Regions from separate parts of the Homo sapiens genome. Here regions 2 and 3 are each linked to region 1. The links are contacts of gene promoters, found by promoter capture Hi-C in blood cells and fetal thymus (Javierre and others, 2016). All regions are on one chromosome and are shown on one strand. Each heading gives the region's core, a stretch centred on a gene start or on the middle of the fragment in contact. The rest is flanking DNA. Distances are from core to core; before and after follow the strand shown. Region 1 holds the start of CEBPG (CCAAT enhancer binding protein gamma). Region 2 overlaps PDCD5 (programmed cell death 5). Region 3 has its middle 36 kb from the start of LSM14A.

What was found. Contacts are between HindIII fragments. The CHiCAGO score rates a contact against its expected background, and 5 or more counts as called.
Region 2: a contact is called between a fragment that was not itself captured here and the fragment with the promoter of CEBPG in region 1, in 1 of 17 cell types (fetal thymus). The highest score is 5.0, in fetal thymus.
Region 3: a fragment that was not itself captured here is called in contact with the fragment with the promoter of CEBPG in region 1 in 2 of 17 cell types (M0 macrophages and total B cells); the score reaches 6.5 in M0 macrophages.

The regions. Positions count from the first base shown.
Region 1 is chr19:33,372,369-33,375,201 of GRCh38, forward strand. It overlaps CEBPG (CCAAT enhancer binding protein gamma), which reads left to right and starts at 1,341. Exons shown (of 2, transcript NM_001806.4): 1 at 1,341-1,527. RefSeq lists a silencer at 1,128-1,937. The HindIII fragment of the contact is 8,186 bases long and covers 1-2,833 here.
Region 2 is chr19:32,584,380-32,587,212 of GRCh38, forward strand. It overlaps PDCD5 (programmed cell death 5), which reads left to right. Exons shown (of 6, transcript NM_004708.4): 3 at 571-632; 4 at 1,437-1,528; 5 at 2,479-2,550. Among named protein-coding and RNA genes, the nearest start is that of PDCD5, 4.6 kb to the left of the region's middle. The HindIII fragment of the contact is 197 bases long and covers 1,335-1,531 here.
Region 3 is chr19:34,135,146-34,137,978 of GRCh38, forward strand. No RefSeq gene overlaps it. Among named protein-coding and RNA genes, the nearest start is that of LSM14A, 36 kb to the right of the region's middle. RefSeq lists an enhancer at 1-142. The HindIII fragment of the contact is 808 bases long and covers 1,067-1,874 here.

The sequences.
Region 1 (2,833 bases), core at 91-2,590:
TCACCGTTGTGACCCCTTTTAATTTTTATTTATTGCTTTATCATCTTACTGATTCCTCGAAACAATCTTACGGGGCGAGCCGGTTCCATGGGCGCTGAAGAAACATTTCCTCTTTCAAAGCCTCAATTGTTTGAACGATACGCGTTGCTAAAGAGGAAGCAATTAAACCTATCAGGCGAGTTCTGCCCTCCGCCCAGCGAGCTGCTGCTTCCTGGTGTTAAAACGCTTTCGGGGCCAGGCGCGGTGGCTCACGCCTGTAATCCCAGCACTTTGGGAGGCCGAGGCGGGCGGATCACGAGGTCAGAAGATCGAGACCATCCCGGCTAAAACGGTGAAACCCCGTCTCTACTAAAAAAATACAAAAAATTAGCCGGGCGTAGTGGCGGGCGCCTGTAGTCCCAGCTACTTGGGAGGCTGAGGCAGGAGAATGGCGTGAACCCGGGAGGCGGAGCTTGCAGTGAGCCGAGATTGCGCCACTGCACTCCAGCCTGGGCGACAGAGCGAGACTCCGTCTCAAAAAAAAAAAAAAAAAAAACGCTTTCGGGTTCTCCTGGCGAGTTTTAAGTCACACTGGATCGCTGCTTATTTTCAGAGATCACCTCGCACCCATGCACCTGGAAGGCACCCAAAGAGAATCATTTTAAGAAATTCACTTCATCTCACCCTAACAACAAAGCACAGCCTGCAGCACATGGATTTCACCCATGTGACATCAATGCTAATCCTATGTGTGAAACATCTGGGTTCATTCGATTTTTTAAAAATTAGTAACTGAGATGGGGTCTCGCTATGTTGTCCAGGCTGGTTCTCCAACGCCTGGGCTCAAGCCATTCTCCCGCCTCGGCCTCCCTCGGCGCTGAGATTATAGGCGGGAGCCACCGCGTCAGCCTCCACTCTTTTTGCGGCGACAAAGCCCGCCCGCCTGCGGGGCGTTCCGTTCGCAGAAACTCTGTGAGGGACGCCGCGGGGGCTTCCAAGGGACGCGGCGAAACCAAAACAGTCGCCGGTGGTTCACAAAACCACCTCAGAAAATGCTTCCAAAGGCACGTCTGGCCTCCACAAGGTGACGGCTTTTCAGCCTCCGACTCGAACTTGAGTCGTCCACAGCACTAGGCCGCCGCCAGCCCGGGCGAGCTGCCTAGGGACCGCGGACGCCGCAGCAAGCAGCTCCCTGCTCCCGCCACACCCGCCGAGCCAGCCGCGCGGAACCCACTCCCCCACCGTGGGCCCGCCTCCCGCCGCCAGCCTGCCCACGATTGGTCGACTGGGCTGCCCGTCGCGAGAGAAGGCGGTGCCTCCGGCAGGCCGGCGCTCCCATTGGCCGGGATGGCGGCGGCGGCGCGCGCGGCCCCGGCGAGCAGGGGAAGCCGGTGGCCGCGGCTGCGGAACGGGCGGAGGCTGCCGGTTTCGTAACCGTCGCTCCTCCTCGCTGACTCGCGGGCTGTGAGGCCTGGGTCGGCTCGGGCCGCACCGCGCGGGGCCGCTCGGAGTGGAGGCCGCCTGGGGGCAGGCGGGCTAGAGGAGCAGGTAAGGAGGCTGCGGCGGGCGCCCTGAGAACGGGGAGGAGGAGGCCGCGGCGACGCCGGCCGCTCGACTGGGTGCGGGCCCGGCTCGGGGAAACCCAGCCCCGGCCCCAGACGGCCCGCTGGCCCGGGAAGGCCACGCGAGGCTGGAGGCGCGGGCGGCGGCGCCGCGCGGCGTCTGATGCAACCTGCCGGCAACACCCGGCGGGGACGCTGAGCTCATTCCTGGCCGCGGCCCAGCGCTGCGGCGCCGCCCGTCGACCCCCGCGCTGCCCGGGGCGCCCCTCGCGGCGGGCCGGGAGCGCGCGAACGGCCGGGGAATGCCCCCTGCGGAGCCCGGCCCCCTCTCGGTGAAACGGGCGCTGTGACCCGCCAGGCTCGCATTGGCCCCTGGGGATGAAGGGTGTTCCCAGAATAGCAGAAGGTGGACCGAGTCGAGCTTTAGAATCCTGATCTTCTAGAAGGGCTCAGCTTGCGGTGATCGAAAATCTGTTCAGAAGTTCAAAGACTGATCAATAAAATAGGGAAAGCAACTGGTTTTTAAATGCATGACTTTGCAGAGATAATATTTTGCTTCTTTGTGGAGCTGTTGGAATGTCCTGCACTTTACTGTTGAACGTAGTTTAGAAGAACACGCAACACCTACGGGTCGAATAGAGAAGAAATGAAGCACTTCGCAGGCATAGTTGGAGGGAGCGGAGCAGGGCCGACAGCCAGCGGAGGTGACCAGATGCGAAGGATGGAAATGCATGTGTCGCGGGGGGAGGAGAGTGTTTTCCAGGGCAGCTGGTGTGTTGCTTCTCTTCCGCAGGTTTACGTGTTGGGTTTTCCTCTTGTTTGAAGTTTATACTGTAATCTGGCATCCTGAAATGTATAAGATTTAGAAAGGTCTCAATGTTGATGGGTGACACCAAAATTGGTAGTTGTGTCAGAATTGACTGCTTATATGAATAGGTTGTCACTTAAGGCAGACTTCTCCCAAAGAAATGTGACTCCCAGAGAAAATTTTAAAAGAAAATCCTATAAGGGCTTGCTTTACGAAGACATTCTACACCTAGAAGCTCTTGATATTTAAGATGTGGTCATCTGTTAGCCCTTGAGTAGTATTTGGGATAAGCTGTTCATAAGGTCGATTCTGCTTCTGGAAAAAGTTGCTGTAAACAAGGCTAAATAATTACAGGGTACAAGGGAGCTGAAGCATATTTCAGCTTCTTGATTCCTGCTTTTGGTGGGCACACTTGGCTGGTTCAGTTATTTTTAATACCTGCTTTTAAAAAAAGTAGATGGAAACAAAACTTCATTGAGAATAT
Region 2 (2,833 bases), core at 183-2,682, 790 kb before region 1:
TGTGAACGTGAACTACTTTCTATTTGGGTAGGTAGGAAGAAGTGAGGATAGTTGCAAAGTTATAATTTCATTCCCCTTCCCCACCCAGAAAAATAGAACTGAGAGTCTTAAAACATGGAATCTGGCTGTAGCTTGGCCACAGTTACCTATGTCTCTTTAGCATAGCCTCCTGGATCTCAGCTTTATCTCTAAGAAAATGATATAGATTAGTCACATGGTCCTTCTAATTGCCTGAAATCCCACTATAAATTTCTAGCACCTGTCACGCAATAGGTACTTAAGAAATGTTGGTGATGGTGTTTGAACTGAGGCTCCACTCTGATGAAACTGTAAAGCTCACCTTCCAGCCTGGTAGGTTGTCACCTGTGTAATATAAAGCTGGTTCTTTGAGGGCAAAAGGGGATTCTACTTGAATGTAGCTGCAGCCTTATGTACAGCAACTACCATAATGCAGTTTGTATACCGCAGGCCCCATGTGGAGACACATACTGGATGGGTTCTTTCTCGTATGTTACATGGGAATGCCGACAGCTGTGTTTTAATTGTGTTTGACCTATGTTTTCGTTGTAGGGAAGCAGAAATGAGAAACAGTATCTTAGCCCAAGTTCTGGATCAGTCGGCCCGGGCCAGGTGTAAGCATCTTTGATTTCATTTCCATAAAGTTAGCTTGAGTTAGTTGAATGGGGTGATTAGATACCATTATTGCTATCACTAGATGAAATATTTGCTTAGGCTGAAAACACTTGAGATGTGTAAGAAGTGTGAAGTTTATAAACCTAGAGAACTGTACTTTAATCCCTAGTAAAAGTACCAGGTCACTTCTCTTACCAAGATGTTCTCCAGGTGTGTATTAGGTAAGATTTATAGGAAACAACTCATAGGGCCAATCACAAAATGTTGCTGGTAGTTGACATTTTGTGTCAACTGGTGATGGGGACTGGGGATGGGGGACTTAGGGGCTTTTTATATGTATTGTCAGTTTTAGTGTATGTTCAGAGTTGTTCATCATAAAAACCAAAACCTGTAGAAAGAAAAAATGAGACAGTCAGAATGAACTGGTATTTTCTGTATTTTAACTGGAAGCCCAGTTTGAGTGTAGAAAAGGCGGCCACAGGTGGATCACCACCATTATGTGTAATAGATAAACCGCTTTCCAGAGGGCAGTCATATATTTTAAGAAACAGGAAGCATGGTGCTTAGAATCTGAGAACCCAACTTTAATCTTGGCTGGGCCACTACCCCCATGTGCCCATGTGGAGATTGGCATGGGTGAACTTCAGTTTTCTCATTTTTAAGAGGAGTAACAATACTGTCTTGCCCTACACTGAGGGACAAGCTTGTGAAGTGCTTTGGAAAGGTCAATGCATAGTTTTAAGGTATAACATAAGTGCATTTGATTTTAATGGATTTTTTGCATATGTATTTTTTCTTTTTAGTAAGTAACTTAGCACTTGTAAAGCCTGAAAAAACTAAAGCAGTAGAGAATTACCTTATACAGATGGCAAGATATGGACAACTAAGTGAGAAGGTAAGCTTAGACAGCCTTGAGGAACTTTACTGTTACCTGCTTTATCAAAACATGGCTTCAAAAGGTCAGCTGCATCTTCACTGGATTACAGAATTCTTGCTGACTCTCAGAAGAAATTGTTGGAGAGAATAGTCATACCTACTTTAAAAGAGAATAAATTGCCTTTCCTAAATTCCTCTGCTTCGCTCCTTTCCTGGCGTTGCTCTGGAACCTTGTTGGTGTCTGTGACCCAATGACTGTTAGGGTCAGCTAGCTTCAATTGCCCCTGCACTGGAAGCAAGGTTTGTCAGTAACACCAATTAAAATACTACCAGTGTAAGTAGAAGGTGTGTTTTGCAGATGAGAAGGTGCTAAGATGCCTTGCTTATGTTCTCTGTGTTGCTGTAATACCATGAGGGGTATGTTGTGGCAAACCTGGCCTTTGAGATCAAGACGAACCCCACCTGCCCTGAGAAGCCGTCTGCTACCACCACAGCCTACCCGAATTGGTCCTGTCCCCTAAACCCCTCACACTGAGAACTGCTTGTGTGGGAGAGAGCTGGTTGGGTTGATCTTTTCCGAGTGTGACTTACCTCCTTCAAGGGGATGTTTAAGCTTCTCGGGCAGAAGTGGTGTGTCTATTCCTGACACCAAACACCGTGGTATATGTGGTTGTCACACTCAGCTAGTGATGATAAAGGTGTTCTTAAATATGTTAGCTTTCAGTTTTCCTGAGGAAGCAATTTTATGGATACTTCCCCCTCCTTCTCAAGTGAGGAATAGCAGAGCAAATTTTATTTGGAACTTAAACCAATAGTTATAACCAATAGTTTCAACCTCCTGCCTCACCACTGCTTCCTTCCTGAGCTCTTTCCCCACACCTCAAAAAGAGTACAAAGTGATTCCATCTGCAGAGGTAAATTCTTTGTTTAAAAAAGTACTGTTTTTCTTATCTTTTCTGGTTCTCCTAGGTATCAGAACAAGGTTTAATAGAAATCCTTAAAAAAGTAAGCCAACAAACAGAAAAGACAACAACAGTGAAAGTAAGTGTCCCCAGATGCTTGTGGCAAATGAAAAGATGGATACTTTAAAGATTAATGTTGAGTATACATCTACCACACATATTTTTCAGCCCAGAGACATTTTCCTTTTGTCAAACACGTGAAAGTTTGGGGAGAAAGGCTGAATCTGTTGGGGGAGGGTTCTAATTTTTATAGGCTCTTGACTCCATTCCCACCCTTTTAGTTCACGCTAAGTTGCTTTAAAGACACAAATGTCTTGCTAAAATTGGTAGAAATCTTTTCTCGGAAAATCTGAGTTATGCTT
Region 3 (2,833 bases), core at 221-2,720, 760 kb after region 1:
TCACTGGAGCTTTGAACTCCTGGGGCTCAAGTGATTCTCCCGCCTCAGACTCCCAAATAGCTGAGGCTACAGGCGCAGGCCACTACACCCGGCTAATTATGACATTTTTGTAGAGGGGGCGGTCTCACTATGTTGCACAGGCTGGTCTCCAACTCCTGGGCTCAAAAGATCTCCCACCTCGGCCTCCAAAAGTGCTGGGATTACCGGCGTGAGCCACCGCATCCGGCCTGTTCACTATTTCTTTTTTCTTGACTTTCTTCTTTTTTTTTTTTTTTCGGAGGCAGAGTCTCACTCTGTCGCCCAAGCTGTAATGCAGTGGCGCAATCTCGGCACACTGCAACCTCTGCCTCCCGGATTCGAGTGATCGCCTCAGCTGGGATTACAGGTGCCTGCCACCACGCCTGGCTAATTTTTGTACTTTTAATAGAAACAGAGTTTTGCCATAATGGCCAGACTGGGCTTGAACTCCCGACCTCAAGTGATTCACCCTCCTCGGCCTCCGTAAGTGCTGGGATTACAGGTGTGAGCCACTGCGCCTGGCCTGTACACTATTTCTTAATCCCTGCCAGGGCGGTGTTATCTTTGCAGCTGAGAGTTCTAAGTGACTTGACAAAGGACACTAGCGCAACTTTAATAGCAAAGCCTGGGCCATTTCCACCACCACATGTGTGGCCTGTGTTCTTTCCCACACCTTTTAAAATTTTAAACAGCCTTATTGAAGTGCTGGTGTAAAGCCTGTACATATTTAAAGCATACAGTTTGCCTTTTACATATGTGTGTATACATCCCTGAAACCACCACCACAATCAAGAGAATGAACATAAAAGTTTCCTTCTGCTCATTTATAATCCTTCCTCCCAGTCACAGCCTACCGTATCAGTCCCTCAGATAACAGTGAATCTGCTTTTGGTCACCGTGGATTAGTTTGCGTCCTGTAGAATTATATGTTAAGGAATCATATACTATCTGCTTTTTCTCAGGGTAGAGGACAGTTACTGAGGCCAAGGGGTCACTTCATGATGAGCATAGAGGCCAATACTATGGCATGAGATTTTGAGAAAAGGAAAGCTTTATTGCCAGTTGACCAGCAAGGAGACAGGAGGCCAGATCAAGTCTATCTCCCCATGCTGGCCTTAAGGCAGTACATTTATTAGGAAGGTTTAGGGGATGAGTTAGGGATCAACAGGTAGAAAGAAAGGGGAGGTCTGGAAAGTCCTTGGGCATGCACAGTTGTCTCTTGATGGGTTGCATGTGCAAATCCAGGATGCGAGAGTGAATATGGAACATGCTGCGGAAGTTCAGACTGTGATGTCAGCAGCCTCTTTCTGCACAGACTCCAGTTGGCCATGTTGGTTCCAACTGATTTCAGCCAGTTTCGTTCTCTTATAATTAAAGGGAGTTTCTGCAAAATGTTTCTTGTCTTATCTGCCATCATGTAAGCTCAAGAATTCCTGGCGGGGTGTGGTGGCTCACGCCTGTAATCCCAGCACTTTGGGAGGCCGAGGTGGCTGGATCACCTGAGGTCAGGAGTTCGAGACCAGCTGACCAACATGGTGAAATCCCGTCTCTACTAACACCACAAAAATTAGCTGGGCATAGTGGCAGACGCCTATAATCCCAGCTGCTCCGGAGGCTGAGGCAGGAGAATCGCTTGAACCCGGGACAAGGTTGCAGTGAGCTGAGATCACACCACCGCACTCCAGCCTGGGGGACAGAGCAAAATTTTATCTCAAAAAAAAAGAATTCCTGTTAGTCACCTGTTTAACCCTTTGGGGTACGATTTCACTTCTTAGCTCTGTGCTTGCAAAATAATTAGACATCCTGTTATCAAGAAAGTATGGCCAGATAAAACTGGTCTGGAAGTTACACAGTCAAGCTTAACTATTTTGAAATTCACCCATGTTGCTGAATAGATCAGTAGTTCATTTCTTGTCATTGCTGAGTAGAATTCCATTGTATTGATATACTGCAATTTTTTAAATCCATTCCTCCATTGTTCACTTTTCAGTTTCTGGCTATAACAAACAAAACTTCTATCAACATGGGTGTGCAAGTCTTTGTATGAATGTACCCTTTTATTTGGATTAATAGCAGTGAAATGGTTGTGTCAAACAGTGGGTGTATGTTCAACTTTTTAAGAAACTGCCAAACTTTTTCAGATGAGATCAGGTGTGTTTAGGGTGATATGGCCATAGACCCAAACTATTTTTCAAAGTGGTTGTTCCAGACCAGGCATGGTGGCTCATGCCTGTAATCCCAGCACCTTGGGAGGCTGAGGTAGGCGGATCACCTGAGGTCAGGAGTTCAAGACCAGCCGGGCAAACAGGGCAAAACCCTGTCTCTACTAAAAGTACAAAAATTAGCCAGGCATGATGGCGGGTGCCTGTAATCCCAGCTACTTGGGAGACTGAGGCAGGAGAACCAGGAGGAGGAGGTTGCAGTGAGCTGAGAGTACACCACTGCACTCCAGCCTGGGTGACAGAGTGAGACTCATCTCAAAAAAAAGAGAAAAACACAAAGTGGTTATTCCATTTCACATTCCCACCAGAAGTGAATGAGAGTTCTAGATCCATATGTCCAACACTTGTTAGACATTCTAAAAGTATGTAGTGGTATCTTGCTGTAGGTTTAATTTTTATTTATCTAATGACATTAAGCATCCTTGGCTGGGTATGGTGGCACACGCTTGTAATCCCAGTACTTTGGGAGGCCAAGGCAGGAGGATTGCTTGAGTTCAGAAGTTCAAGACCAGCCTGGGCAACATGGCAAAGCCCCTTCTCTATTTTTTTTAATTTTTAATATAAAAAAATTTATACCCAGCACTTTGGGATGC